Linked DNA regions of Homo sapiens: all the other regions are linked to region 2. The links are contacts of gene promoters, found by promoter capture Hi-C in human tissues and cell types (Jung and others, 2019). All regions are on one chromosome and are shown on one strand. Each heading gives the region's core, a stretch centred on a gene start or on the middle of the fragment in contact. The rest is flanking DNA. Distances are from core to core; before and after follow the strand shown. Region 1 overlaps CAND1.11 (a long non-coding RNA gene). Region 2 holds the start of CTR9 (CTR9 component of Paf1/RNA polymerase II complex). Region 3 overlaps CAND1.11 (a long non-coding RNA gene). Region 4 overlaps AMPD3 (adenosine monophosphate deaminase 3). Region 5 has its middle 12 kb from the start of AMPD3. Region 6 overlaps CAND1.11 (a long non-coding RNA gene).

Region 1 (4,690 bases), core at 762-3,261, 400 kb after region 2:
ATAGCATAATTTCCCCCAAATTCACAAGCCTGTACAGATTCAAGCAGATGGAATATAGACCACATCTCTCACAAGGAGGGTTGTACAAGTGCCAACATGTCATCATAGGAAGAACATGTGGGAGGAGAGATGCTGCTGTGGCCATCTTTGGGGAACACAGTCTGCCTTGTGGCTCTTTGGCCTTGACCTGTAGCATGGCCTGATCTACTCATGTGAAAATTTCAAGGAAGATTTATGTTGTTTTGCTATTTTGAAATTGAGGTTTTGTTTATGTTCCTCCTGACATGTCTCCTCTGCTTTTAAGAAATTCTCAAGCAATTCATCAGCACGTCACAAGATTAATGGGAGTTTCCCCTCCTGCAACCAAGGAGACCTCAGAACCATAATTTCCAAGAATGTGAATGACTATCTGAAGAATAAGATCCTCTCCACTTAAGAGTGACTCCTAATAAATTACAACATGCCCTGGCTACACGTTCTGAAACATTCCTGTATTGCCCCACACTCCATGCCAGTTGAGGGGAAAGAAGACAGTGAATGAGGGGGATGTGGTTGGGGGATCTAATGGACACTCGGGCGGGGCTGACTCCAGTGGTATTTCCAGTACCCCATAAACTCACAGAACTTCTGAACACGAAGGAATCTCAAAGATCGATCAATTAAATTTATACTGGAAATGTAGCTACGATCATAGCTATGAATTGAATTTATTTATTTAGTGAGATCTGACTATAATAGTATGTCCTTTATAGCTGAATGAAGTAGACATTAGTGTCTAATAGAACTCAAGTATGTCAGACTTCACCAGTTTGTAAACTCATGCTTCTATTTAATGCACCATCATTGTAGCTTGAGCCTCATCCTACTTGACTTCGTGAAATCAGGATTTTATCCAATTCCGCTGGGGAACACTTACGTGGTCCACCCATTTCCTCTGTACTTTTCATCTCTGCCAGCTGCCTGGCCCCACATGGGGGACTCCTATGTCTGAACACCTGCTTCCTTCAGGGTACAACTTTCCTAACTCCACTGTTGTGCCCCAGCATGGGCTGTACAGACTCCTCCACCATTTCCCTGTTGTGATAAAGCAGACTAGGCTGAAACTTTTAACAAGACATTACCAAAGGCTTGGAGAGAAAAGAGAATTACAACAGAGAGAAACTTGAAACTCAGTACCTTTGCCCAGATTCCCCAGTCTCTGGGTTTGACTTCTACATTGCTCTCTACTGCTGCCATGGAGGAAGGGCCAGCCTGCCTCCCCACAGTGGGAAGATACTTCATTCTACAAATCCTTGAGGTTCAGATCAAGGAGGCAGTTATTTCCCTCACACTTCAACCTAAGCTCCATGTCCTTAGTCTTTATTTCCTGCCTTAGGATTGATCGTGTTCCAGGAGGCCTGAGAATTAATGTGTCTATTTCGTGGAAAACTCCAACTTCTAAACAATAACATAACAAGCATTCTAACCATAGAACACTGTGTGTGATAATAACAGCCCAGTCAATGCTGAGTCCCATAAAGCCCAGTTAAGTTCTTTTCCCCATTCTCTCCTCTAGCATGAGTCTATGATCATGGTTATACAGTTGTCTAGCCATCTTCAGTGTCTCAGCTCTTGAGTTTCTATGATTGTCTAGTTGGAAAATGGCTTATTCGGCCTGGCATAGTGGCTCACGCTTGTAATCCCAGCACTTTGGGAGGCTAAAGTGGGCCAATTGCTTGAGCCCAGGAGTTCAAGACCAGCCTGGGCAACATGGCAAAACCTCATCTCTACAAAAAATACAAAAATTAGCTAGTCATGGTGCCCCTATAGTCCCAGCTACTCAGGAAGCTGAGGTGAGAGGATCGCTTGAGCCCAGGAGATTGAGGCTGCGGTAAGCAGAGATCATGCCACTGCACTCCAGCCAGGGCAACAGAACAAGACTCTGTCTCAGAAAAAAAGAAAAATGGCTTATCCGTTAAAAAATTTTCAAGAGCAAGCAATAATAAAGTGACAAATGGCATTGTAAATACATAGGAAATTTTAGGCTGGGCATGGTGGCTCTCACCTATAAAGCCAGCATTTTGGGAGGCTGACGTGGGAGGATCATTTGAGCCCAGGAGTTTGAGACCAGCCTGGGCAACATAGTGAGACTCCATCTCTGCAAAAAAATAAAAATAAAAAAAATAGCCAGGCATGGTGGCACATAACTATACACCTAGCTACTCAGGAGACTGAGATGGGAGGACTGCTTGCGCCCAGGAGGTCAAGGCTGCAGTGAGCCATGATTGTGTCACTGCACTCCAGCTTGGGTGACAGAGCCGGACCCTATCTGAAAAGAAAAGAAAAGAAAAGAAAAGAAAAGAAAAGAAAAGAAAAGAAAAGAAAAGAAAAGAAAAGAAAAAGAAAAAGAAAAAGGAAAGAAAAAGAAAAGAAAAGGAAAGAAAAAGAAAAAAGAAAAGAAAAAGAAAAGAAAAGGAGGGAAGGCAGAGAAGGGAAGGAGACAGACAAAGAAAAAGAAAGAGAAAGAAAGATAAAATGCTCCAAATAAAACCTTTTGAAGAGATCAACTCTGCCTAATATGTTGACATTTTACACAATTTTGCCAAACATTTTAGTTATTGGAGTCATAGTAGCAGAACTTCCCCCATCCCAAGGTAAGATTTTTTTCTCTATATTTGCATACGGCCTATAAGAAGCATTTTCTGAGACGTTTCCTCTTTTTAGAAACACAAAAATGTGTACGGATTACAAATGACAGTTCTTTTTCAGTCTCTACTTACTTCTCAAGTGATCCAAAAATATTTGGGTCTAATCTCAGCCAAGTTCACCTTGTTATATCCACTTTATGGACAAAGGAAGCTGAGGTTCTATGAAATCCAATTTACTGAATTACACAATTAGAAAATGGGGCTGGGAATGGTGGCTCATGCCTTTGGGAGGCCAAGGAGGGAGAATCACTTGAGCCCAGGAGTTAGAGATCAGCCTGGGTAACACAGGGAGACCCCATCTCTATAAAATATAATAATAATAATTAAAAAAATAAAACAATAGAAAATGGGAAGGCTGAAATTCAGAACACCAGCTGCCCTGGACGCTCTGGCCCTTGCAACTATACCAGGCCACACTTGATCTAAAAGGAAATGTTACATATCACAAAAACATGCGTTGTGAAGACCAGCCAAGCATACAACAAATCAGTCCCATTCAGTTTGGGATTACAAGCCGGACGAACAATAGAGCAGGCTTCAAAATAAACTTCCGTTTCCAGGATGAGAAGGAAACATAGGGACATAAGCTCTTAGGAGACACCTGCAGTGAGCAGGGACCTGCGCCAGAGAAAGGGTATAAAGCGGAGCCTGAAAAGAGGGGACTCCGAGGAAGACACCGCATTCATTCTTCCATCCCACAAACTTTCGCCAAGTGAGTCCTTTGTGCCCGGCTTTGTGCTTGGCTTTGTGCTACGCAGCAGGCACAGGCTGATGAATCAGTTAGAGGCGCCTGCCCCCTTGGGCCTCACAATCTGATAGAAGGGACAAACAAGTAAATATAGAACCTGCATTCCTCTCATTCAAGTGAAAAGGACATCCTGATTAAAATATCTATGGCAGCTCTGAGAACATTCGTGCCCAATCACAGTAAGGGCCTGAACTGATTGTCATTTCCTTTGTTTAACCAATTCTCTTACACCTGGAGTAGAATCCCTGGGGCCAGCCCGGCTGGGTACCCAACGTGATCCCTCCAGATCTCTGGAGCAGCTCGCCTTCCTCATAATCATTTTACCCTGGGATGTTTCAGCCTTTGAGGTACAATGTGTGACTAAGGCCACTGTCAACAGGCAATGACACAAAGCATCTGTCGTCTGGCAAAGACCAGCTGAGCAAATGCTTAACTCAGAAGGCTGCTACAGTTTTTGTGAAAACAAATTACATCAGCGCCTAACCCGGGAGTCTCCCAACCAGGCTAAAGGGTGTTTTCTTTGGTGAGCGTGTGTGCTCCTACCTCACACAGCATGAAGGAACTCTGCCTAGAGTGAAGTGGCACAAAGTCTCCATATCTCAGAGCTTGGTGATACCATCAAGAAGACTCCTTGCAAAATCGGCTTAGCAAGGAGGCAGACATTCTGAGACTTCCCGGCATGCAAAGAGCCCCGTGCTGTGGGAAGGGACACACACGAGGTCAGCCAAGGTCATGGGCTCCCAAGGAAATATTTACTGATTAGCTTCCGTGGGCCAGGTGCTGGGTGGAGATTTAACTTACCTTATCTCATTTAATTATACCCCAAGTATGCTCAGCCCCATGGCCTTACTCTGGACCTGCCTTAAGGCCAGCACTTCACAAAGATACCTTTAAAGCAATAGTGAATAATGCAGATTCTACCACTGACTCCATGGGGACATAGAAGGGACATTTATATTGCAGACCACAGGTAAATATTAATCTTCAAGAGATCTATTGTACAACACGGTGACTATAGTTAATAACAATGTCTTGCATTCTTGAATATTGCTAAGAGAGTAGATTTCAAGTGTTCCCACCACAAAAAAAAAGTACATGAGGTAACGCATATGTTAATTAACTCAATTTAGCCACTCCACAATGTATACAAATTTCAAAAATCATGTTGTACACAATAAATACATACAATTTTATTTGTCAATTAAATACATAGATAAATTTGAAAAAAATACTTAGTTTAACACCTCCATTGTCT
Region 2 (4,883 bases), core at 2-2,501:
ATAATAAAGTTAAAGCACAGAGAAGCAAACAAACCCTGCTACTTGTCCCCAGATCACTGGAACTATAAAATACTAGAAATGGTCTGCTTACTAAAAAATAACAAAACAAAATCCTACTTAACATAGAATCCAAGTAAAGTGCAGATAAGCACCCTAGAGACTATTATGCCATAGGTCTGACTCCTTGAGATGCATGACCCTACAAGCCATGCAAAGTTGAATGCCACTGCACACATTAATCATGGAGGTGGCACCTGCGTGTAACAGACAGTCCTGACTGTAAGCACAAAAATAATAATAGGAAAATGTCCTGGAATTAGAGGTAATGACTATACAACTTTGCGAATACACTAAAAACCACTGAATTTTATACCTCAATATTATATCTCAAACAAAAAAAATAAAAATAAAAGATATACAAGAAGACTGAACATCAAAGCTGAGAGCTTTACTCAGACAAGCCACAGGCCACCCATGAATGAGACATAGGTAAGCGAGAGGAGGTTAAATTTTATCAGCACACAGGGGCGGCTAAATCTTGGGATATCTCGTTGAAGGAGAGTTGGTGTAGAGAACACAGCGCACCATGACAGACTCGAGTTTCTAAGGGAGAAGAGGCGACCTCCTATATATTCCCAGGGAAAGATCTCGAGTTTGAGCAGCAAGCATATAAACCCCGGAAACATCAGCGCCCACCTCTGTAATCTGCGAGGTGTTTTACAGTTTATCGGGTACTCTCACACCTCTGCTCCCGTGGGTTGGTTAGGAAAAGAGTAGCGCACTGTCAAATTCGAACAGGCTGGAGAGGAACTTTCAAGAACTCCTTCTCCGAGTGGCCCTGAGGCTGCAGAGACGCGGTGCCCCCAGCCTGAGAGGGCACAGGGGCTGAAGAAGATGATGATCAGACCTTGGCCAGGTATTTCGATCAGGGCTCTTAGGGAAGGAGGATGCTCTCGCTTCAGAAACGAAGTCGAGCGAAGTCGGTGGGGGCGATCGTACAAGTTCATGGCCCCCACCCGCCTCCATACACGACACTTACCTCGTCAGTGTCCCGGAGGGGAATCTCGATGGAGCCCCGCGACATGATGGGGTCAAAAGGCGAGCAAGTGTCTCGCCCCGCCGCTCCGCAGCCGGTAGTCTCCGCTTCAGGCTAATCCAGAGGTGAGTGACGGCTCCGGCTCTGGTCTTGACTGCCGCCCCGCGGCGCCGCTGGAGCTCTGGCTTCTCCTTCCCGTCAGCCGCTTAAACAACGAGCAGCGGACGGCGGACGGCCACTTCCGGCGACCCCGCCCCCTGTCCCGGAAGCACTCCCGGGGGAGCGTGCCCTACGCGAGCTCAGCTTGTGGCTCCGGTGTTTCCGTTTTGGGGTTGGCGGCTCCGAAGCTTTTGTTGGCGTGTCGGCTGTAGGGTGCCCCGAGAGCCTGCAGGACCTTCGGAACCATCTGGCGTCTGACTCTCCTCAGCGCTGGCGCGGCCCCGAATGAAAACTTGGAAGGCGTAGCCGCTTGGTCCCGCGGTGGGCGGGGCCCCTGCCTGACGTGGACCTCTCGGGATGGGCCTGGCCAATCCTGTTTTCTTCCCAAGATTGTTAGGGATAATTCAGTCATTCGTTTCGCAACCCATCTTTTGGCCCCCGTTAGGTGTAAGTCATACCTGTGATACCTTTGTGACTAGTTTAAATAAAAAAATTTACAATTAATTCGGTAATCATTGTGATAATTCATGTCTTATTTTTTTTAGTTCTTCGAAGCATGTAAGAAGATCTAGTATATTTGTGATTTAAGTAAAATTGCAGATGAGGCCAGGCGCGGTGGCTCACGCCTGTAATCCCAGCACTTTGGGAGGCCAAGGCGGGCGGATCATCTGAGGTCAGGAGTTCGAGACCAGCCTGACCAACATGGTGAAAACCCGTCTATACTAAAAATACAAAAATTAGCCCGGCGCGGTGGTGGGCGCCTGTAATCCCAGCTACCAGGGAGACTGAAACAGGAGACTCGCTTGAACCCGGGAGACGGAGGTTGCGCTGAGCCGAGATCAGCCACTGCGCTCCAGACTGGGGATCGATCGAGACTCCACCTCAAAAAAAAAAAAAAGAGGAAATTAATTTTAGTAATATATTTTATTTAACGTAATATATCCAAAATCTCATTTCAACATGTAGTCAATATAAAAATTCAGATAATTTTTACATTTTTTTATACTGAGTCTTGAAAATTCGATATGTATTTCACATGCATACACTGATCTCAGTTGCCTGATTTTAATTGGAAATATTGGATCTGTGTTTAGATTTTATAAAGTTTGCAGTTGAAAAAATAGGTTCACACACTTTAGTTTTTCCAAAATTTAAATTAAAAAAATTCCTAATTAAATTCCTTAATTGGATTAGTCATATTTCAAGTGTTCAATAGCCACATGTGGTTAGTGAATACTGCATTGGATGGCATCAGACAGTATTTCCCAGAAATACTGTTTAATATATTTTAAAGTTTATAAAGTAAGCATTAAACAAAAGTACACATAGTGGTGATTGTTATTCTCCATGCCCAAAAGCCTCCCTGATATTAAAAACTCTATTGATAGGTTTGGTTTTTCAGTTATTCGCATCCAAAGGCATCATACCTGATAATGCAGAGTGCTATGATTGAATAGTTGGGGCACTCAGTTTAGAGTGGGATTTGGAGGAAGTGACATTTAAGTTGCATCTGGGAAAATGAGTAAGGTTTGGCAGGTAAAGTATGTAGGGGAATGTGTACCAGACAGAGGGGACGGCATGTTGGGGAAGAGCTTTGAGAACCTGCAAGAAGGTCATGTGACTAGAATGTAGAAAATGAGGGGGAGAGTGGCATGAGTTGAAGCTGATATAAGAAGTACCCAGACATGCTGGGGTTTATGCTTATAAAGCAAAACTGACATCTTGTCCTGTTTCCAAAATGAGTGAGTGTACATATTACTTCCCACAGGAAAAACAAAATACTTTGTGTTCTGAAATAAACCGTGAAACAACAGTATCACACTCTGTAGTCTCCAAAGTGAACAAAACTTTCAGCATTTCCCATATATTACTGACTCTCTTACAGTTTAATTGCTGACTTTTGTACTGCTACAGTCTGAAGATATGTGGGAGCTTGGGGTCATATGGCAATCATATGAGAAAATTGCTCTTTTCTCACCATGAAGCAACTAACTGTAAACCTTGGTGTGTGTTCATTTGATGTATCAGTCCTTCTAAAGCGTAAATTCACCTGTATACTTTTGCAAGTGTTTTTGTAAGTAAACTTTTTTTCTAAATGCTTTTGTCCTTCAGAATTTCTTTTGACTTAGTATATATTAATGATTTGGGGTTTTATCTTACATGCAAAGTGATTGAAATGCTTTAAGTGATGTGTATGTGTCAATGAGAGGGAGAAAGAATAAAAGAGAATTGGTTTTGGCCAGGCACGGTGGCTCATGCCTGTAATCCCAGTACTTTGGGTGGCCGAGGTGGCCTATCACATGAGTTTAAGAATTCAAGACCAGTCTGGGCAACATGGTGAAATTTGTCTCTACTAAAGATACAAAAATTAGCTGGGTGTGGTGGTGCACGCCTGTTATCCCAGCTACTCAGGAGGCTGAGGCATGAGAATCACTTGAGCCCCAGAGGCGGAGGTGAAGGTTGCAGTGAGCCAAGATCATGCCGGTGCACTCCAGCCTGGGCGACAGAGTGAGACTCTGTCTGAAAAAAAAAAAAAAGAATTGGTTTTAAAAGATTGTTCTGGCTATGTTGTGAAAGATGGATTGGAAAGTGTCTCGAGAGGATGTGGGCAGACCACTTAGGAAACTGCTGTCTAGGTCACAGATGATAAATAGGAATAGGTTTAAGACAGTGGAGGTGGAGAGAAGTGGATGGATTTAAGATTATCATCTATCTATCTGTCTATCAATCATCTGTTGATACCTTAGTCACTAGGACTTGCCAATGTATTGGATATAGGCCGGGGTCACTGAAAAAGTAGTGTCAAGAAGGACGTCCAGTTTCTGGCATGAACAACTGGGTGAATGATGTGTCATTTCCTAAAATAGGAAAGATTAGTGGAGGAGCACATTTGGGCAAGGGTAGACCACTAGTTGGATTTCACATGTGTTGTTTGTAGTTTGTACTGTCTCTGCGACAGCCAGATGCAGATTTCAGATAGTCTAAATTACAGATCTGTAATTTAGAAGACAGTTTCTAACCTGGAGAAATAGGTCTGAGAGCTATTGGCATAAAGATGAATTTTAAAACTATGGGATTAAATTAGATTAGATAACCTAGGGAGAGAATGGAGAGTGACAAGAGAAGGGCCTAGTTCCCAGCCTGAGGAATTCTAGCACACAGAGGGTGTGAAGAGGAAGGTGGCCTGCAAGGAATCAGCAAGGACAATGAAGAGAGAATCACCTATCAGGGGCCTGGCAACAATTGAGACTTAAACTACACTCTTGGTACCAGGTTGCTACAAGCAGCCTTTTGTTTTTCCCTAAATGTAGCAGGCACTGATGAAATTAGATGTTTTAAAGCTGTAGAACCAGTTTTGGAGCAATTTCAAAGATTTTATTTCAACTGGCATGATTGCATAATGTCCATTCACAAAACACCATGCCCCATGTTGGGCCTGAGTGCACCAGATCAAGGCAAAGCAGTTAGTGTATTTGGCCAGTGTGGGTTTTGTTGAGTACATGTTCTAAATAGATTGTTAAGATTCTTACTTTTATGTTGTTGGTATTGCAGTTGTCTGTAATGTTGGTAAATATATACATTTAGCCAATCTGAAGAGTAAGTTATTTTATATGTTGATAAAATATGCTAATAATTAATTTATTATTTTTGAGGCAGGGTCTCACTCTGTCATGCAGGATGGAGTACG
Region 3 (4,903 bases), core at 2,029-4,528, 420 kb after region 2:
CCTTCTTTTAAATTTTATTATGCTGATGATTCACAGAATTCAGTTTAATTCCACAAACATTTATTGAGAGCCTATTACGTGCAAGATACTGGGTAAGTGCCAGGCCACCAGGGTGGAAATGCTAGAGTCAGTGTAACTTGATTTCATAAAGAAAATACATAATGCATCTCATGATCCAGTGATGGATAAGGTGGAGAGGGAAAGTGGTATAAAAGTACCATGAGGCCAGGCATGGTAGCTCACATCTGTAATCCCAGCACTTTGGGAGGTCGAGGCAGGTGGTTCACTTGAACCCAGGAGTTCAAGACCAGCCTGGACAATATGGCAAAACCCCATCTCTACTAAAAGTACAGAAATTATACAGGCATGGTGGAGTGTGCCTGTAGTCCTAGCTACTTAGGAAGCTGAGGTGGGAGGATCACCTGAGCCCTGAAGGTTGAGGCTACAGTAATCCGAGATCATGCCACGGCACTCCAACCTGGGCAACAGAGTGAGATCCTGCCTAAAAAAAAAAAAAAAAAAAAAAAAAATATATATATATATATATATATATATATATGGTTTGGCCACTGACTGAATAGCTATACACACACTCACTCTGTCACCCAGGCTGGAACAAGGGCAGTAGAGTGATCACAGCTCACTGCAGCCCCAAGCTCCTGGGCTCAGGCAATCCTTCTACCTCAGCCTCCCAAGTAGCTGGGACTACAAGCACATATCACCAGACCCAACTGATTTTATTTCTAATTTTTTGTAGAGATGGGGGTCTCACTTTTTTTCCCAGGCTGGTCTTAAACTCCTGGCTTCAAGCAATCCTCCCACCTCAGCCTTCAGAACTGCTGGGATTACAGGCATGAACCACTGCACCTGGCCCTAGTCAATATTTTTATACGTGTCTTAAATGATGAAGAAGGTAAGCACAAAGTTTAGAGTAATAGCTAATAGACAAAATAAGCAAGATGCAAAATAATCTGACCAGCATGACTTTCAAGAAGAATCATTGTAAAGTTCTGTATTTGGTTCAAAGAAAATCAACAACACAAATTCACAGGGATTCCTGACTTGGCAGCAGTTCATGTAAAAAACAACTGGGCTTTTAATTGACCATGGATTCATTATGAGGCATTATTGGAATGTGACTGATAAAAACAAGATTAGGGCAATTCTTGACCACAGCCATAAATCTAGTGTCCCGATAAGAGGGTGGCAGCTCAATCCTGTTCTGGTCAGACCACACTGGAGTTCTATTTTCATTTCTAAGCATCCATTTCACAGTTGGAACATGGCACCCTTGACCCACTTTTGTGAAGTAATGTTTTCTCACACTCCTTTTCCATCCTGTGTTCTAGCATACTCTCAAGTGCAGTATGCTAACACTAGGACAAATGAGCTCTACCCTTGTAATACAGCACAACTGCAAAGCAGTAATGTCATGTGAATCAAGTTCCTTCAGATTTCAGTCATGTCAGCTTTTTGTTAATTTTTCTTTTATTGCAGTCTCCTCTCCCTGGTGACTTAGGCTAAATCTGGGGGTAATGAAATGACCGAAATCTGACTTACAGCCACTGTGTGTACTCCAAATGATTCCTCCTTCCTATTAGTCATAACATAACCCTTTGTCCTTGAACCAGGCTGCTCTGCCTAGTTTCCTGTTCTTCATGCAAAAACTCCAAGAAACCAGCCTTGCCAACCTCCGATAGGAGTCTAAAGCTACCATTTAGTCTGAAAACTGAGATCTGTGCTACACTTGAATGCAAAGTCATCAGAATTAGCTTACACAAGTTCCCCTTTCTCCCTCTGGCATATACTTCCACTCCTTTGCCATCCCAGCTTTGACTTCCCTTTCTTCTTCAGCCCTAATGAGAACTGGGAGTGCGAAAAAATGTAAGGAAGAAAGGAGGAAAAAGAAGAAAGACAGGAGAGATTAATCTCGATCCCAAAGATAGGTAGGACCTTTTGTTATTACACCAGCAAGTCATGGTTCTCTCCTTTCTTCCCTCTTTGTCTCCCAACCCTCTTCAACATGTATACTTGCCAAGGGCTAGGGAAACCCCAGCTTACAAGATCTACTCCCTCTAAAGGGACTGATCCTAAAATTAAAGCCAGTCCAGAGGGGCCACCTTTCTAGCCCAGGCAAGATATTCAAGCCTCAAACCAGGTTAAGGTCGTGTTGGAGTCCACACATGCCCTCTTCTTCCCTATCCAACAAAGGCCTGAGAAACTATGGTCTTTTCCATTAATGCCCTTGGACTGGAAGGGCAGGGGTCATATATAAATTCTGTGCTAAATACTATGAATTTTTTTTCTTTTTTCAGCATGAGACAGATACTGTGAATGCTATATCCCATTTAATGCCCATAGTAAATCCTGTGCTATAATGTATTAATTAAGATGGCTTCCATTAAAAGGAGCAGAAAGCTCAACTCACTATGGGTTACTAAGTGAAGGAGATGATTGGTTTATACAATAGAAGTATGACAGGATTGAGGATGGGTCCATTTAGGAGTTCAACAACTTTATCAGGGAGTTCTATTTTCCATCACTCCACTCTGCCATTCACAATGAGAGCTTCCATCTAGGGCTTGCCCCTGTTTTAGTCTCAGAGTGGCTTTCTATTGCTGCTGAGACTGCATATGTCTCCCACTTTTATCTAGCAGGAGAAAGGGAACTTGTTTTTCTGGAAATAAGCCAGTAAACTTATGCAAACTCATTGGCCTGAATTGCTAGTGAGACCACATATGTGTCCCATTCTTATCTAGCAGGAAAAAGGAAATTTGTTTTTCTGGAAATAAGCCAATAAACTTATGCAAGCTCACTGGCCTGAATTAGGCCAGCACCCATCACTGGGTCCTGTAATAGTGGCCTTAAAATGGAATTGCACTAGGCCTGAGTCTTCAGGAGTGGAGTGGTCTATTGGGGGAGATGTGGATACCCTAACAAAAGTCATGGTAGTTACCAAGAGAAGAACAAGGGCTGGGGAGGCAACTCCAAGGCTCTCTTAGCTACATATTATCCTATTTTTCAGAGGAGAAACTGAAGCTTGGAGATGCTGCTGTGTGTAATGATAGAGCCAGGACTCTCACCCTTCCCTACACCAGGTTATCTTGAAGAAACAAACCAAAGAAAAGCCGGAATGGTCATCCCTTCACTTTCAGCCTAAAACATGTAGATAGGAAAGAGAAGCAGGGATTTCATGAGACTGGGAAAATCTCAGCCACTGTGCACCCAGGAGCTACTGAATCTACCTACTCCACAAAGCTGAGGCAGCTTTGAACCTTCACATCACCTGGAACCATGCCTAGCTCAGCAACTATTTGTAAACTGAAGAGCAGAGACTACAAAGGTATTACCCATAATGATGAGTTCTAGAGCACTGTTTCCCCAGCCCATTCTGGGTTAAATCAGAGGTGTGGGCTAGCCTGGGAACCTTGCCACACTGCATAACATTGCTCCTCCTGGGGAATGTCTTCCGAGTTCTAAAGGACAGATTTGCAAATAGACTTCTGGAGTACAGCCCCATCCACTGCTGGGAACTGCCTTTGTTTGACTTGTTTATTCAGGAGAGCTTCTCTGGACTTTCACCCAGCCGCTGCCTGGCAGGAGGTGACCTGGCTTTAGCCAACAGTGGGTGGGGACAGCAGGAGAGCAGCTTCTGCTCAGTGCTAACTGGACACAAAGCTATACCATAGGAAGGGGGAAGGGCAGAGTATTCAAAGGCCATAAGACAGCTAGTCTTTGACAAGGGACCTCATTTAAGGAGCATGAGTCTCCCTGTCTCACTTCTACCTGGTGGAAGAGTGAGACAAAATTAACTTACATGACTTGAAAGGCTTTTGCAATTTTTGAGGGCCACTGAGTATAAATTTTCCAATAAGCAGCTGTTGGCTTTTGTTCCTGCTGAGGTCTCTCACAAGGCAGCATCAGGTTTGAGTGTCATGGCCTGCCATGGCCCCACTGGCCTTGAGGGTTTCTGTGGCCTATTTTAAGCAATTTTACTGTTCATGGTCCTGGCAAACATATCCATTTTTCTGACAATATTTATAGTCTGATGTAAGTGTGAACTAGATAATGACCTTTTCAAGTCATGGCACAATGTTCTGTTTAAAGTTTTCATTTTTTTGCTCAGAACATCTGCAAGATCCTTTGACCCTTCTGCATGGTCTCTTGGAGATTTTCCTAACTTTCTGACCACTTGTGGGGATAGAGGGGTGAATGATGGGCAGACCCTTCACGTGTCTTGGGTCATGTGAGCATCTGAGCCTACAGAGAACACTCCTTTTGCTTCTGAAGCTCTTGCAGCCCGTTCTGAGAAATGTAATGCTGACCAGTTCATCTCAGGCATTTCTTTCTCTCCGGACATTATAGGATCACCCTCAAAACACGTGTGAGGGCACATACATCATCAGCTTCCCATAGTGAGTAGTTCCTAGGACTTGGATAACATTTCAAGCTTGACATGGCTAAAACAATACCATATCTGCAGTTAACTTTAGGTGACTCACCAGAAGAGCTATTTTAAACAAATTTGTAGCGACTAAGATTACATTTGTTCTATGAAAAACAGACTGAAAGGACAAAAGGCTAATGCAATATTTTTGAAACGCTCTTTTTAAGCTCAATGAAGTCCTGCTGTATTTTCTTGACAGCATCCTAGTTACCAGGCATAACAGGAGGGGCAATAACTGGTATCTAAACCACTCAAGAAACAAGCATGTCTTGACACCATCCAGCAGGAGTATATGTTCATCAGAAGACAGGTTTGTAGAAATAGTGATGGCCATGTTCATCTAGTCACCAGGGATTCTAATGTATTCCCTTTCAAAATAATATTGGTCAGGCTAGAGCTCTGGTAGCCTTGTGAAGGGTATGGTTTACCAGTCACCTGGCCTGCCTTAAGGTCATC
Region 4 (4,692 bases), core at 897-3,396, 280 kb after region 2:
TAGATTTTCTAATTTATTTGCATAGAGGTGTTTATAGTATTCTCCGATGGTAGTCTGTATTTCTGTGGGATCAGTGGTGATACCCCGTTTATTATTTTTTATTGTGTCTATTTGATTCTTCTCTCTTTTTCTCTTTGTTAGTCTTGCTAGCAGTCTATTTATTTCATTGATCTTTTCAAAAAAAAAACAGCTCCTGGATTCATTGAGTTTTTGAAGAGTTTTTCATGTCTCTATCTCCTTCGGTTCTGCTCTGATCTTAGTTATTTCTTGTCTTCTGCTAGCTTTTGAATTTGTTTGCTCTTGCTTCTCTAGCTCTTTTAATTGTGATGTTAGGGTGTTGATTTTAGATCTTTCCTGCTTTCTCTTGTGGACATTTAGTGCTATAAATTTCCCACTACACACTGCTTTAAATGTGTCCCAGAGATTCTGGTACGTTGTGTCTTTGTTCTCACTGGTTTCAAAGAACATCTTTATTTCTGCCTTCATTTCCTTATTTACCCAGTAGTCATTCAGGAGCAGATTTTTCAGTTTCCATGTAGTTGTGTGGTTTTGAGTGAGTTTCTTAATCCTGAGTTCTAATTTGATTGCACTGTGGTCTGAGAGACTGTTTGTTATGATTTCCATTCTTTTGCGTTTGCTGAGGAGTGTTTTACTTCCAATTATGTGGTCAATTTTAAAGTAAGTGTGATGAGGTGCTGAGAAGAATGTATATTCTGTTGATTTGGGTTGGAGCTTGTTCCAGAGCTGAGTTCAAGTCCTGAATATCCTTGTTAATTTTGTCTCGTTGATCTGTCTAATATTCACAATGGGGTGTTAAAGTCTCCCATTATTATTGTGTGGGAGTCTAAGTCTCTTTGTAGGTCTCTAAGACTTGCTTTATGAATCTGGGTGCTCCTGTGTTGGGTGCATATATATTTAGGACAGTTAGCTCTTCTTGTTGCATTGATCCCTTTACCATTATGTAATGCCCTTCCTTGTCTCTTTTGATCTTTGTTGGTTTAAAGTCTGTTTTATCAGAGGTTAAACTTGCAACTTCTGCTTTTTTTTTTTTCTTTCCATTTGCTTGGTAAATATTCCTCCATCCCTTTATTTTGAGCCTATGTCTGTCTTTGCACTTGAGATGAGTCTCCTGAATACAGCACACTGTTGGGTCTTGACTCTTCATCCAATTTGCCAGTCTGTGTGTTTTAATTGGGGCATTTAGCCCGTTTACATTTAAGGCTAATATTGTTACGTGTGAATTTGATCCTGTCATCATGATGCTAGCTGGTTGTTTTGCCCATTAGTTGATGCAGTTTCTTCGAAGTGTTGATAGTCTTTACAATTTGGTATGTTTTTGCAGTGGCTGGTACCGGTTGCTCCCTTCCAGGTTTAGTGCTTCCTTCAGGAGCTCTTGTAAGGCAGGCCTGGTGGTGACAAAATCTCTCAGCATTTGCTTGTCTGTAAAGGATTTTATTTCTCCTTTGCTTATGAAGCTTTGTTTGGCTGCATATGAAATTCTGGGTTGAAAATTCTTTTCTTCAAGAATGTTGAATATTGGCCCCCACTCTCTTCTGGCTTGTAGGGTTTCTGCAGAGAGATCTGCTGTTAGTCTGATGGGCTTCTCTTTGTGGGTAGCCTGACCTTTCTCTCTGGCTGCCCTTAACATTTTTTCCTTCATTTCAACCTTGGGGCATCTGACGATTATGTGTCTTGGGGTTGCTCTTCTCGAGGAATATCTTTGTGGTGTTCTCTGTATTTCCTGAATTTGAATGTTGGCTTGTCTTGCTAGGTTGGGGAAGTTTTCCTGGATAATATCCTGAAGAGTGTTTTCCACTTGTTTCGATTCTCCCCGTCACTTTCAGGTACATCCATCAAACGTAGGTTTGGTCTTTGCACATAGTCCCATATTTCTTGGAGGCTTTGTTCATTCCTTTTCATTTTTTTTCCTCTTATCTTGTCTTCTTATTTTATTTCATTAAGTTGGTCTTCAATCTCTGATATCCTTTCTTCCGTTTGATTGATTCAGCTATTCATACTTGTGAATGCTTCACAATGTTCTCGTGCTGTGTTTTTCTGCTCCATCAGGTCATTTATGTTCTTCTCTAAACTGGTTTTTCTAGTTAGCAATTCATCTATCCTTTTTTCAAGGTTCTTATCTTCCTTGCATTGGGTTAGAACATGTTCCTTTAGCTCAGAGGCGTTTGTTATTACCCACCTTCTGAAGCCTACTTCTGTCAATTGGTCAAACTCATTCTCTGTCCAGTTTTTTTCCCTTGCTGGCAAGGAGTTGTGATCATTTGGAGGAGAAGAGGCATTCTGGTTTTTGGAATTTTCAGCCTTTTTGCACTGGTTTACATCCCCATCTTCGTGGATTTATCTATCTTTGGTCTTTGATGCTGGTGATTTTCGGATGTGGTCTCTGATTAGATGTGCTATTCCTTTCTGTTTGTTAGATTTCCTCCTAACAATCAGACCCCTCTGCTAGAGTTTGCTGGAGGTCCACTCCAGACCCTGTTTGGCTGGGTGTCACTAGTGGAGGCTGCAGAACAGCAAAGACTGCTGCCTGTTCTTTCCTCTGGAAGCTTCATCCCAGAGGGGCACTTGCCTGATGCCAGCCAGAGCTCTCCTGTATGAGATGCCTGTCGGCCCCTACTGGGAGGTGTCTCCCAGTCAGGATACACGGGGGTTAGGGACCCACTTGAGGAGGCAGTCTCACCCTTAGCAGAGCTTGAACGCTGTGCTGGGAGGACTGCTGGTCTCTTCAGAGCTGTCAGGCAGGGACATTTATGTCTGCTGAAGCTGTGCCCACAGCTGCCCCTTCCCCCAGGTGCTCTGTCCCAGGGAGATGGGGGTTTTATCTATAAGTCCCTGATTGGGGCTGCTGCCTTTTTTTCAGAGATGCCCTGCCCAGAGAGAAGAAATCTAGAGAGGCAGTCTGGCCACAGCAGCTTTGCTGAGCTGCGGTGGGTTCCACCTAGTTTGAACTTCCTGGTGGCTTTGTTTACACTGTGAGGGTAAAACCTCCTACTCAAGCCTCAGCAATGGCCAACGACCCTCCCCCTACGAAGCTTGAGTGTCCCAGATTGATCTCAGACTGCTGCTGTGCTGGCAGTGAGAATTTTGAGCCAGTGGATCTTTTTTTTTTTTCTTTGAGACGGAGTTTTGCTCTTGTCACCCAAGCTCAGTGCAATGGTGCGATCTCAGATCACTGCAACCTCCTTCTCCTGGGTTCAAGCGATTCTCCTGCCTCAACCTCCCAAGTAACTGGGATTACAGGTGCCCCCCACCACGCCCGGCTAATCTTTGTATTTTTAGTAGAGATGAGGTTTCACCATGTTGGCCAGGCTGGTCTTGAACTCCTGACGTCAGGTGATCCACTCGCCTTGGCCTCCCTAAGTGCTGGGATTACAGGCATGAGCCACTGCGCCTGGCCACCAGTGGATCTTAGTTTGCTGGGCTCCATGGGGCTGGGACCTGCCAAGCCAGACCACTTGGCTCCCTGGCTTTAGCCCCCTTTCCAGGGGAGTGAATGATTCTGTCTTGCTGGCGCTCCAGGCGCCACTGGGGTACAGAAAAAAAAAAAAAAAAAAAAACTCCTGCAGCTAGTTCAGTGTCTGCCTGAATGGCCGCCCTGTTTTGTGCTTGAAACCCAGGGCCCTGGTGGTGTAGGCACCAGAGGCAGTCTCCTGGTCTGCAGGTTGCAAGGACCATGGGAAAAGCACAGTATCTGGGCCAGAGTGCACAGTTCCTCAGGCTCAGTCCCTCAAGGCTTCCCTTGGGTAAGGAAGATAATTCCCCCATCCCTTGTGCTTCTCAGGTGAGGCAACGCCTCACCTTGCTTTGGCTCACCCTCCTTGGGCTGCACCCGCTGTCCAACTAGCCCCAGTGAGATGAACCAGTACCTCAGTTGGAAATGCAGAAATCACCCCCTTCTGCATCGATCTCACTGGGAGCTGCAGACCGGAGATGTTCCTAATTGGCCATCTTGCCAGCCTTAACTATATCCTAATTTTTTAAAAATCAATTTTTATCTGGCTTCTTAAAAAAATACATAATTCCTGCATTCTTCCTCAAAGCATGCTGAACATAATTTAAAGTTTTCTCAATGACCCAGGATCATCACTGTATTATCCAGTTATGATCTCAGAGGTGTGTTATCCCTAAACTACTGTGCTTCAAATTCTTGTGCCTGCTTTTCATAATTATTTTGTTTCCTCTCTCACTGTTGACTGTCTAATAACAACAATAACAAAACAGGAACATTAATGGTGCTCCAAGCACTGCGCTAAGGATTTTTTGTGTATTCGCTCATTTAATTCTCACAAGGTATGTCCTTTTATTATTCTCATTTTGCAGTTTAGGAAACCAGCTCAGGCAGTCAAGAGCTTTGACCAAGGCCATTCAGTAGTAAGTGACAGGGCTGCCACTTGAACCCAATAGGTCTGACCCCAAAGCCCAGGCTTATAATCACCACACATCACCTCTGTGACCCTGCCTGTAGAAGTCTCTCTCCCTGCTTCTAATTTGCTTCTTTAAATCTGCCACGGGATAAGAAACAATATAGCCAGATTATAGAATTCTGTGTAAAGTAAGAATAAATAGGAGATGGGATGGGAGGTGCCACAGACAAAGAGGGAGCTGGGGAGAGGGTGTCCTCCATGAAAATGTTAACTTTCGAACATTTACATATAAAGGCACCTCTAGTGAGAA
Region 5 (4,992 bases), core at 1,904-4,403, 310 kb after region 2:
TCTGAGAGCACATTAGCAAAGCCTCATCAGATATAGCCAGTTTTCAAACCAAAGTGCCCTGGGGCCTTCTGCTAATTGAGTGGACAGAAATCATGGCATATGGCCTGACACTAGGATAGAAATAGGTACCTCAGAAGTACATGATGGCTGAAAGAAGAATAACCAGGGACATTTTCAGGGCACCACGTGTGGAAGGGCATTGCAGCCTACCCTGATGCTGTGGCATAATGAGAGTATAAGCCTTTCCCCCACCACCCCTCCACTCCAGTTTGAGCCTAATTCCTTCCCAGGATTTTAATCTGTGTAGTCAATCAGACCTAAGCAAACTGGAGTCTGACAATTGGCACAGCAGTCTCCTTACTGTTAAGATCTGGTTCCTTTTTTCTGAAATGGGTTTCTAGAAAGAAGAGAACCAAATCTGAGCACTTTGAAAATTAGTGCATGTGACAGCTAGGCCTCATCACAGAGTGCGTGCACTCAGGATTATGGCAGGAAGTGGGGAGGGGGGGTGTCCTGGGCACCAGGTCAGGAGACAACAAGAAGAGGGCTCAGGAGTAGGACTGGGCTGAGTCTGTTTCGGGGAACCTTGGGTCCTTGAGCTTAGAGTCCCTAACTCGTCACCAGACTGGAGTGAAAGAGAGTCATGAGTGGGAATCTGAAGCTTGGGGCCTACCACATGTGACCACAAAACCCTCCCTCCATTATCTAAGTGCATGGCAGGGGGCTGGTGCTCCCCAGGCATGGCTGTCTGCTGATAGGGACACAGTTTCTGAATCAAACTGAAGTCTGAAAATTAGCAGTCCTTTACTCCATCTAAGAATGACCTGTCGTCTCTACCTTCTTGCCAGGACTCTGTACAAGATCATCCTCAGCTACACAAGTAGAGTTTATTGCTCCAGGTCACCACTATCTTGTTTCCATGTTTGTGTATCTTTCATAGTCTCCAAAATGCCACCAGCAGCCTCAACATTACATTATTCTGGTGAGACTCTGCAGCTGAACATCCATAGATGAGAGTCACAGCTTCAAATAGAATTTCCCAAATTCTCTGCCCTCAATCTGCTTCAACTCTTCTGCCTTATCATCTGAAATTCAGACTTCAAATTCTAGGCTGACCATAGCCGTCTAAAATTTTTGGAAGCAGGGAGAGGGAGGTGAGTAGAGTGGAACTCAGGTGAGGCTATGACCTCTGTCTCCCAGAGATGCAGTCTCCCCCATTGCTGCCCACCTGCCCACCACACACACATTCCCCTTAGGCCATACTCTTTCCCAGGAGTCCTCCCTGGCTGTAGCTTCTAGTTTTCCTAGTCTCAAGCTACCTTCGTCCTGGTGCCTTGTTCAGAACTGCTCACCCAACCATTCAATGGGCAATAGGGTCAAAAGCTGAATCTGGAGTGAGGGTCTGTAGCCTTCCTGTCCCACGGTGTTTGCTTCCCAGTTGAATGTCAGACTCCAGGGGCTGGCCACCATCAGCCTTCGACAGTACCATCAACACTCAATACATCCACAGATCTGTGCATTCTACCAGGGACATCTGGAGGAAGGGGTGGCTAAAATTATACCAGAGAAAAGCATGGGGATTTTTCAAGTTCCTGAATTCCTGTTATTTAAAAAGAAGCCGAACTATGACCTCACTGGGGCTATAACATCTCTGGGTCAGGAAAGAGGGCTCTATTTAAGAATTTAATTTGGTAGAAGCCTAAACCTCAGCATTACGCAATATGCCTATGTAACACACCTGCACATGTACCCCCTGAATCTAAAACAAAAATAACAAAAATTTTTAAAAAATTTTTAAACATTTTTTAAAGAATTTAATTTGGGAAATCAAAAAATTGTGATGATTGTATGACATTGTGAATGCAATTAATGCTGCTGAATTGCACATGCAAAATGGTTAAAATGGCAACTTATATATATATTTTTACCACAGTAAAAAATTATCAAAAGAACAACAAAATTAAAGATTGAATTTTTTTAGAAACTGTTATTGCAGAACTTTACTATTTCTTTGGAACATTAAGTATGAACAGGGCAGAGCATGTGGGTCTCTATCCACCATCCAGTATCCCCAAGGCTTCAGGCAAAGCGGTTTAGCCGTGTTCTGGGGGAACACAGAAGACAGTCATGTTCCACACTGGCAAGGCTCAGAAGAGGAAAGGAGGGCAGCAGCCAGAGAAAGAGCATAAACACCAAAAAAGGACTGAGGCCCCATAGTCAGAATGAGGACTCTGACACAGAAGCTCGAGCCAGGTCCTCAGAAATCTTGAGAAGAACACAAGCCCCAAACAGCTCAGGGTGAGCAATCGTTTCCATAGCTCACGATTCATCCAAAGGATGACTCTTTAAGAGGAATAAATCAGCTAGAAGTCATCGGTATCTATCACCTGTCAACTGCTCCCAAAAGGTAAGCCCTCGTCACTGGCCCATCTGCACATTTCATGTCTTGATCACATTCCAGACAATTCCCACTGGATCCAGATCACTACCAGTCACCTATGGCAAAGTTCAGATCCCTATCTAAATGAACATGATGAAAGCTTATGATGCACCAATAATTTAGTGTTCACAAATATATTCACGGGAATTAAGTTCGGCTGATGGTAACAGAGACCCACAATAATAGTGGCCTAAACAAGAGAAAAATTTCTGTCTCATTTCCTTTCCCTAAATAGTCCAGAGTTGGACATTACAGGCTGTTCCACAAAAGCCCCACACTTCTTCCAGCCATCACTCTACCATCCCTCCAGTGTGGCCCTCATACTTTGTGGTGGGAGGGGGGGCGTGGGAAATTAGCTCTTCCTTTGTTAAGGAAGAGGCGGAGGCGGCCGGGCGCGGTGGCTCACGCCTGTAATCCCAGCACTTTGGGAGGCCGAGGCGGGTGGATCATGAGGTCAGGAGATCGAGACCATCCTGGCTAACAAGGTGAAACCCCGTCTCTACTAAAAAAAATACAAAAAAAATTAGCCGGGCGCGGTGGCGGGCGCCTGTAGTCCCAGCTACTCGGGAGGCTGAGGCAGGAGAATGGCGTGAACCCGGGAAGCGGAGCTTGCAGTGAGCCGAGATTGCGCCACTGCAGTCCGCAGTCCGGCCTGGGCGACAGAGCGAGACTCCGTCTCAAAAAAAAAAAAAAAAGAGGCGGAGGCTAGAGCTTCAGCCATTACACTCATGTTTCATGGAGCAGAAAGGAGGAAGTGACGAAGAATAAAAGGCAGAGGGCACAGGCCAGAGGCCTTTTAATTAAGCCACCATATCACACCTCCCACTGGCCTTACTGAGCTGCTCTCTAACATCACTGACCAGTGACCTCAGTATTTTTTGTGTCTCACGTATAATTTCACCAGGGCATAGCCTTCCTTTCCAAATATAACCGCCATTGGTTTTCGTGGTTAACTTGAGTATACCAGGCCTAGAAGCTTGCATCAAAGAGAGCAGATAAAAATATCAACACAGCACAGTTTAGATATCCTCACAACCTCAGAACTTCTCCAGCTTGGTCTTGGTGCACCACGATATTTGCATAGTTGTAGCACCCACTGAAAGGTCCAAAGACCTATGAGTTCGGCAAAAACCTTTTGGCAGTTTCAGGGAGATCAAAGAGAAAGTATGTCTCTCCTGCTCTAAAGGTAAGATTTGATCTGATTAAAGTTTTCACCCCCCTTCCTCATGAATTCCTGACATCAGCAGGACTCCCTCCTGGTAATGTGTCAGAAATGTGTCAGAGAAATGGAGGCAACATAGGCCTGAGGTTACCAGGATTATATTAATATATTATGTGTCACCTTCTCTAATTTGGGAAGCTAGTCTCAACTTGACATGCTTTAAAAGTCCTTCATGTTGTCATCCATGAAAGATCTATTGAGCATCTAGGTGTCAGCCACTGGGTCCTAGAGCAACAGTGGTGAGCAGAGCACCATTCTTGTCTTCATGGAGGTCATCAGCTAGTGGGTGACACAGGACGTTAATCAAATGACTTCAAACTATGATAGAGCTGTGAAGAAAAAATACAAGAACCATACCAGAGCATAACAAGAAAACTCAACCTTCGTCAGGATATGAGGGAGGAGACATGGGGAATGGCATGTGCAAAGGTCCTGGGAGAATTGAGGGGAATAATACCTGAGTCATTTCTTCCCCTACTTTACTTCTATCACATACTTGTGATTGGACATTCTGTTAAGTTTACGCATTAAAGCTTGGTTTTCAATGTGTATAAATTCCTTACTTTACCAAAGGGAAGTACCAGATGGCCCGGGTAAATAAAACCAGATTTAGTGCTCCAGGGTGGTGCTGTTTTTACATTAACTTTTCCAAATCCTGTCACTTTTCCAGCATTTATTAAATATATAACAAACCTATTTTAAGATTCCTCAGGCCCAGGCTCTTGTGTTTTCTCAACATTTCCAGCTGTGTGTCTCACGCATTCCTTCCACGTGAGCATATTCTGAAGGTCAGAGGGGAAGAAAGTTCTTCTCCCCACAGCTACTCTGTAAGCACCTTGCTTCCTTCCATCAAAGTTGTAGAGGTGCCCACTCATGCCACTCCCTGTGCAGACACTCTAGTGCCAGGTACCACCCATTCCACCCTCCTCCTTCTTCAGGGGAGTCTTCAACTTTAATTCTTTTCCTCTTCCAGGGTCTGGCCTTCTGTTCAGCTCCTCTCCATAGAGCAAGAGGAATAGGTCTGAGTGATGATCATGGCCCTGGGCTGAGGTCTGACTGTAGCCTTCTTGTCCCCTAATACCACCACCCCATTCCTGCCTCAAATCAGATCTCTTTAATCTCTACTCATCCTGATGAGTTAGGCTGCCATGTATTACCAAATTTCTACCAGGGATCTCTGAAGTATGTCAGTGAAGTCACAATCTATATCTTTAGTTTTATGTGATATAAAGGGTCCACCATTTAAATCTCAGTCCCTGTCTTTTATCTCCAGAGCTGGTTACTGAGAGCCAGAGTTCCAGAGGGTCCCCCTGGAGCCATCAACAGAATG
Region 6 (5,190 bases), core at 2,073-4,572, 330 kb after region 2:
CCCAGATACTACACTTTTCCCACAGTCTTCGCAACCCAGGTGAGATTCCCTCGGGTGCCTACACCCCCAGGGCCCTGGGATTCAAGCACAAAACTGGGCAGCCATTTGGGAAGACACCAAGCTAGCTGCAGGAGTTTTTTCATACCCCAGCAGCACCTGGAACACCAGTGAGACAGAACCATTCACGCCCCTGGAAAGGGGGCTGAAGCCTAGGAGCCAAGTGGTCTAGCTCAGCGGATCCTACCTCCTCAGAGCCCAGCAAGCTAAGATCCACTGACTTGAAATTCTTGCTGCCAGCACAGCAGTCTGAAGTCTACCTGGGATGCTTGAGCTTGGTTGGGGGAGGGGCATCCACCATTACTGAGGCTTGAGTAGGCAGTTTTCCCCTCATAGTGTAAACAAAGCCACAGGGAAGTTTGAACTGGATGGAGCCCACCACAGCTCGGCAAAGCTGCTGTAGCCAGACTGCCTCTCTAGATTCCTCCTCTCTGGGCAGGGCATCTCTGAAAGAAAGGCAGCAGCCCTAGTCAGAGGCTTATAGTTAAAGCTCGCATCTCCCTGGGACAGAGCATCTGGGGGAAGCGGCGGCTGTGGGCGCAGCTTCAGCAGACTTAAACGTTCCTGCCTGCCAGCTCTGAAGAGAGCAGCAGATCTCCCAGCACAGCGTTTGAGCTCTGCTAAGGGACAGAGTGCCTCCTCACGTGGGTCCCTGACCCCTGTGCCTCCTGACTGGGAGACACCTCCCAGCAGGGATGGACAGACACTTCCTACAGGAGAGCTCCAGCTGACCTCTGGTGGGTGCCCCTCTGGGACGAAGCTTCCAGAGGAAGAAACAGGCAGCAATCTTTGTTGTGCTGCAGCCTCCATTGGTGATAACCAGGAAAACAGGGTCTGGAGTGGACCTCCAGCAAATTCCAGCAGATCTGCAGCAAAGGGGCCTGACTGTTACAAGGAAAACTAACAAACAGAAAGGAATACCATCAACATAAACAAAAAGGACGTCCACGCCAAAACCCCATCTGAAGATCACCAACATCAAAGACTGAAGGTAGATAAATCCACAAAGATGAGGAAAAATCAGTGCAAAAAGGCTGAAAATTCCAAAAACCAGAATGCCTCTTCTCCTTCAAAGGATCACAACTCCTCGCCCAGCAAGGGAATAAAACTGGATGGAGAATGAGTTTGACCAATTGACAGAAGTAGGCTTCAGAAGGTATGTAATAACAAACTCCTCCAAGCTAAAGCAGCATGTTTTAACCCAATGCAAGGAAGCTAAGAACTTTGAAAAAAGGTTAGACAAATTGCTAACTAGAATAATCAGTTTAGAGAAGAACATAAATGAGCTGAAAAACACAGCACAAGAACTTCGTGAAGCACACACAAGTAACAATACCCGAATCAATCAAGCGGAAGAAAAGATATCAGAGATTGAAGACCAACTTAATGAAATAAAGTGTGAAGATAAGATGAGAGAAAAAAGAATGAAAAGGAATAAACAAAGCCTCCAAGAAATATGGACCTATGTGAAAAGACAAAACCTACATTTGATTGATGTACCTAAAAGTGACAGGGAGAATGGAACCAAGTAGGAAAATACTCTTCAGGATATCATCCAGGAGAACGTCCCCACCCTAGCAAGACAGGTCAACATTCAAATTCAGGAAATACAGAGAACACCACAAAGATATTCCTCAAGAAGAGCAACCCCAAGACACATAATCCTCAGATTCACCAAGGTTGAAATGAAGGAAAAAATGTTAAGGGCAGCCAGAGAGAAAGGTTGGGTTACCCGCAAAGGGAAGCCCATCAGACTAACAGCAGATCTCTCTGCAGAAACCCTACAAGCCAGAAGAGAGTGGGGGCCAATAGTCAGCATTCTTGAAGAAAAGAATTTTCAACCCAGAATTTCATATCAGCCAAACTAAGCTTCATAAGCGAAAGAGAAATAAAATCCTTTACAGACAAGCAAATGCTGAGAGATTTTGTCACCACCAGGCCTGCCTTACAAGAGCTCCTGAAGGAAGCACTAAACATGGAAAGGAACAACCAGTACCAGCCACTGCAAACATACCAAATTGTAAAGACCATCGACACTATGAAGAAACTGTATCAACTGACGGGCAAAATAACCAGCTAGCATCATAATAACAGAATCAAATTCACACATAACAATACTAACCTTAAATGTAAACAGGCTAAATGCTCCAATTAAAAGACACAAACTGGCAAATTGGATGAAGAGTCAAGACGCATCAGTATTCAGGAGACTCATCTCACTTGCAAAGACATACATAGGTTCAAAATAAAGGGATGGAGGAATATTTACCAAGCAAATGGAAAGAAAAAAAAAAAAAGCAGGGGTTGCAATCCTAGTCTCTGATGAAACAGACTTTAAACCAACAAAGATCAAAAGCGACAAAGAAGGGCATTACATAATGTTAAAGGGATCAACGCAACAAGAAGAGCTAACTAGCCTAAATATATACGCACCCAATACAGGAGCACCCAGATTCATAAAGTTCTTAGAGACCTACAAAGAGACTTAGACTCCCACACAATAATAGGGGGAGACTTTAACACCCCACTGGCAGATCAACGAGACAGAAAATTAACAAAGATATTCAGGACTCAAACTCAGCTCTGGACCAAGCAGACCTAATAGACATCTACAGAACTCTCCACCCCAAATCAATAGAATATACATTCTTCTCAGTACCACATCACACTTATTCTAAAATAGACCACATAATTGGAAATAAAACACTCCTCAGGAAATGCAAAAGAATGGAAATCATAGCAAACAGTCTCTCAGACCACAGTGAAATCAAATTAGAACTCAGGATTAAGAAACTCACTCAAAGCTGCACAACTACATAGAAACTGAACAACCTGCTCCTGAATGCCTACTGGGTAAATAACAAAATTAAGGCAGAAATAAATAAGTTCTTTGAAACCAATGAGAACAGACACACAACATACCAGAATCTCTGGGACACAGCTAAGGCAGTGTTTAGAGGGAAATTTATAGCACTTAATGGCCACAGGAGAAAGCAGGAAAGATCTAAACTCGACACCCTAACATCACAATTAAAAGAACTAGTGAAGCAAGAGCAAACAAATTCAAAACCTAGCAGAAGACAAGAAATAACTGAGATCAGAGCAGCAATGAGATAGAGACACAAAAAACCCTTCAAAAAAATCAATGAATCTAGGAGCCAGTTTTTTGAAAAGATCAACAAAATAGATAGACCACTAGCCAGACTAATAAAGAAGAATAGACAGAAGAATCAAATAGAAGCAATAAAAAATGATAAAGGGGATATCACCATTAATCCCACAGAAATATAAACTACCAACAGAGAATACTATAAACACCTCTACGCAAATACACTAAACAATCTAGAAGAAATGGATAAATTCCTGGACACATACACCCTCTCAAGACTAAACCAGGAAGAAGTGAAATCCCTGAATAGACCAATAACAAGTTCTGAAATTGAGGCAGTAATGAATAGCCTACCAACCAAAAAAAGCTCAGAACCAGACAGATTCACAGCCAAATTCTACCAGAGGGACAAAGAGGAGCTGGTACCATTCCTTCTGAAACTATTCCAAACAATAGAAGATGAGGGACTCCTCCCTAACTCATTTTATGAGGCCAGCATCATCCTGATACCAAAACCTGGCAGAGGCACAACAGAAAAAGAAAATTTCAGGCCAATATCCCTGATGAACATTGATAGGAAAATCCTCAATAAAATACCAGCAAACCAAATCTAGCAGCACATCCAAAAGCTTATCCACCACGATCAAGTTGGCTCCATAGCTGGGATGCAAGGCTGGTTCAACATATGCAAATCAATAAATGTAATCCATCACATAAGCAGAACCAATGACAAAAAACACATGATTATCTGAATAGATGCAGAAAAGGCCTTTGATATAATTCAGCACCCCTTCATGCTAAAAACTCTCAATAAACTAGGTATTGATGGAACGTATCTCAAAATAATAAGAGCTATTTATGACAAACCCACAGGCAATATCATACTGAATGGGCAAAAACTGGAAGCATTCCCTTTGAAAACCGGCACAAGACAAGGATGCCCTCTCTCACCACTCCTACTCAACATAGTATTGGAAGTTCTGGCCAGGGCAATCAGGCAAGAGAAAGAAATAAAGGGTATTCAAATAACAAGAGAGGAAGTCAAATTGTCTCTCTTCGCAGATGACATGATTGTACATTTAGAAAACCCCATCATCTCAGCGCAAAATCTCCTTAGCTGATAAGAAACTTTAGCAAAGTCTCAAGACACAAAATCAGTGTACAAAAATCACAGGCATTCCTATACACCAATAATAGACAAACAGAGCCAAATCATGAGTGAACTCCCATTCTCAATTGCTACTAAGAGAATAAAATACCTAGGAATAGAACTTACGAGGGATGTGAAGGACCTTTTCAAGGAGAACTACAAACCAATGCTCAAGGAAATAAGAGACGACACAAACAAATAGAAAAACATTCCATGCTCATGGATAGCAAGAATCAATACCGTGAAAATGGCCATGCTGCCCAAGGTAATTTATAGGTTCAATGCTATCCCCAACAAGCTACCATTGACTTTCTTCACAGAATTAGAAAAAACTACTTTAAATTTCATTTGGAACCAAAAAAGAGCCCATATAGTGAAGACAGTCCTAAGCAGAAAGAACAAAGCTGGAAGCATCACACTACCTGACTTCAAACTATACTACAAGGCTACAGTAACCAAAACAGCATGGTACTGGTACTACAACAGACATATAGACCAACGGAACAGAACAGAGGCCTCAGAAATAAATGCCACACATCTACAGCCATCTGCTCTTTGACAAACTTGACAGAAACAAGCAATGGGGAAAGGATTCCCTATTTAATAAATGGTGTTGGGAAAACAGGCTAGCCATATGCAGTAAACTGAAAATGGACCCCTTCCTTACACCTAATACAAAAATTAACTCAAGATGGATTAAAGACTTAGATGTAGGACCTAAAACCATAAAAACCCTAGAAGAAAACCTAGGCAATACCATTCAGGACATAGGCATGGGCAACGACTTCATGTCTAAAACACCAAAAGCAATGGCAACAAAAGTCAAAATTGACAAATGGGATCTAATTAAACTAAAGAGCTTCTGCACAGCAAA

What was found. Contacts are between HindIII fragments. The study calls those that stand out against the background at their distance.
Region 1: a fragment that was not itself captured here is called in contact with the fragment with the promoter of CTR9 in region 2 in 1 of the 25 tissues and cell types used here (lymphoblastoid cells).
Region 3: a contact is called between a fragment that was not itself captured here and the fragment with the promoter of CTR9 in region 2, in 2 of the 25 tissues and cell types used here (lymphoblastoid cells and spleen).
Region 4: a fragment that was not itself captured here is called in contact with the fragment with the promoter of CTR9 in region 2 in 1 of the 25 tissues and cell types used here (H1 embryonic stem cells).
Region 5: a contact is called between a fragment that was not itself captured here and the fragment with the promoter of CTR9 in region 2, in 1 of the 25 tissues and cell types used here (spleen).
Region 6: a fragment that was not itself captured here is called in contact with the fragment with the promoter of CTR9 in region 2 in 1 of the 25 tissues and cell types used here (H1 embryonic stem cells).

The regions. Positions count from the first base shown.
Region 1 is chr11:10,351,083-10,355,772 of GRCh38, reverse strand. All of the region lies in intron 2 of CAND1.11 (a long non-coding RNA gene), which reads right to left. Among named protein-coding and RNA genes, the nearest start is that of CAND1.11, 45 kb to the right of the region's middle. RefSeq lists enhancers at 1,253-1,783, 1,784-2,315, 2,847-3,378, 3,379-3,909, 2,620-4,576. The HindIII fragment of the contact is 7,535 bases long and covers 1-4,690 here.
Region 2 is chr11:10,747,614-10,752,496 of GRCh38, reverse strand. It overlaps CTR9 (CTR9 component of Paf1/RNA polymerase II complex), which reads right to left and starts at 1,251. Exons shown (of 25, transcript NM_014633.5): 1 at 1,040-1,251. The coding sequence starts at 1,084. RefSeq lists enhancers at 1,364-1,413, 1,434-1,583, 1,382-1,882. The HindIII fragment of the contact is 21,303 bases long and covers 1-4,883 here.
Region 3 is chr11:10,325,282-10,330,184 of GRCh38, reverse strand. All of the region lies in intron 1 of CAND1.11 (a long non-coding RNA gene), which reads right to left. Among named protein-coding and RNA genes, the nearest start is that of CAND1.11, 19 kb to the right of the region's middle. RefSeq lists a silencer at 1,169-1,463. The HindIII fragment of the contact is 5,263 bases long and covers 647-4,903 here.
Region 4 is chr11:10,464,703-10,469,394 of GRCh38, reverse strand. All of the region lies in intron 2 of AMPD3 (adenosine monophosphate deaminase 3), which reads right to left. Among named protein-coding and RNA genes, the nearest start is that of AMPD3, 12 kb to the right of the region's middle. The HindIII fragment of the contact is 3,528 bases long and covers 383-3,910 here.
Region 5 is chr11:10,440,639-10,445,630 of GRCh38, reverse strand. No RefSeq gene overlaps it. Among named protein-coding and RNA genes, the nearest start is that of AMPD3, 12 kb to the left of the region's middle. RefSeq lists enhancers at 324-383, 404-683. The HindIII fragment of the contact is 3,104 bases long and covers 1,602-4,705 here.
Region 6 is chr11:10,421,088-10,426,277 of GRCh38, reverse strand. The region is part of intron 3 of CAND1.11 (a long non-coding RNA gene); the gene reads right to left. Among named protein-coding and RNA genes, the nearest start is that of AMPD3, 32 kb to the left of the region's middle. The HindIII fragment of the contact is 3,899 bases long and covers 1,373-5,190 here.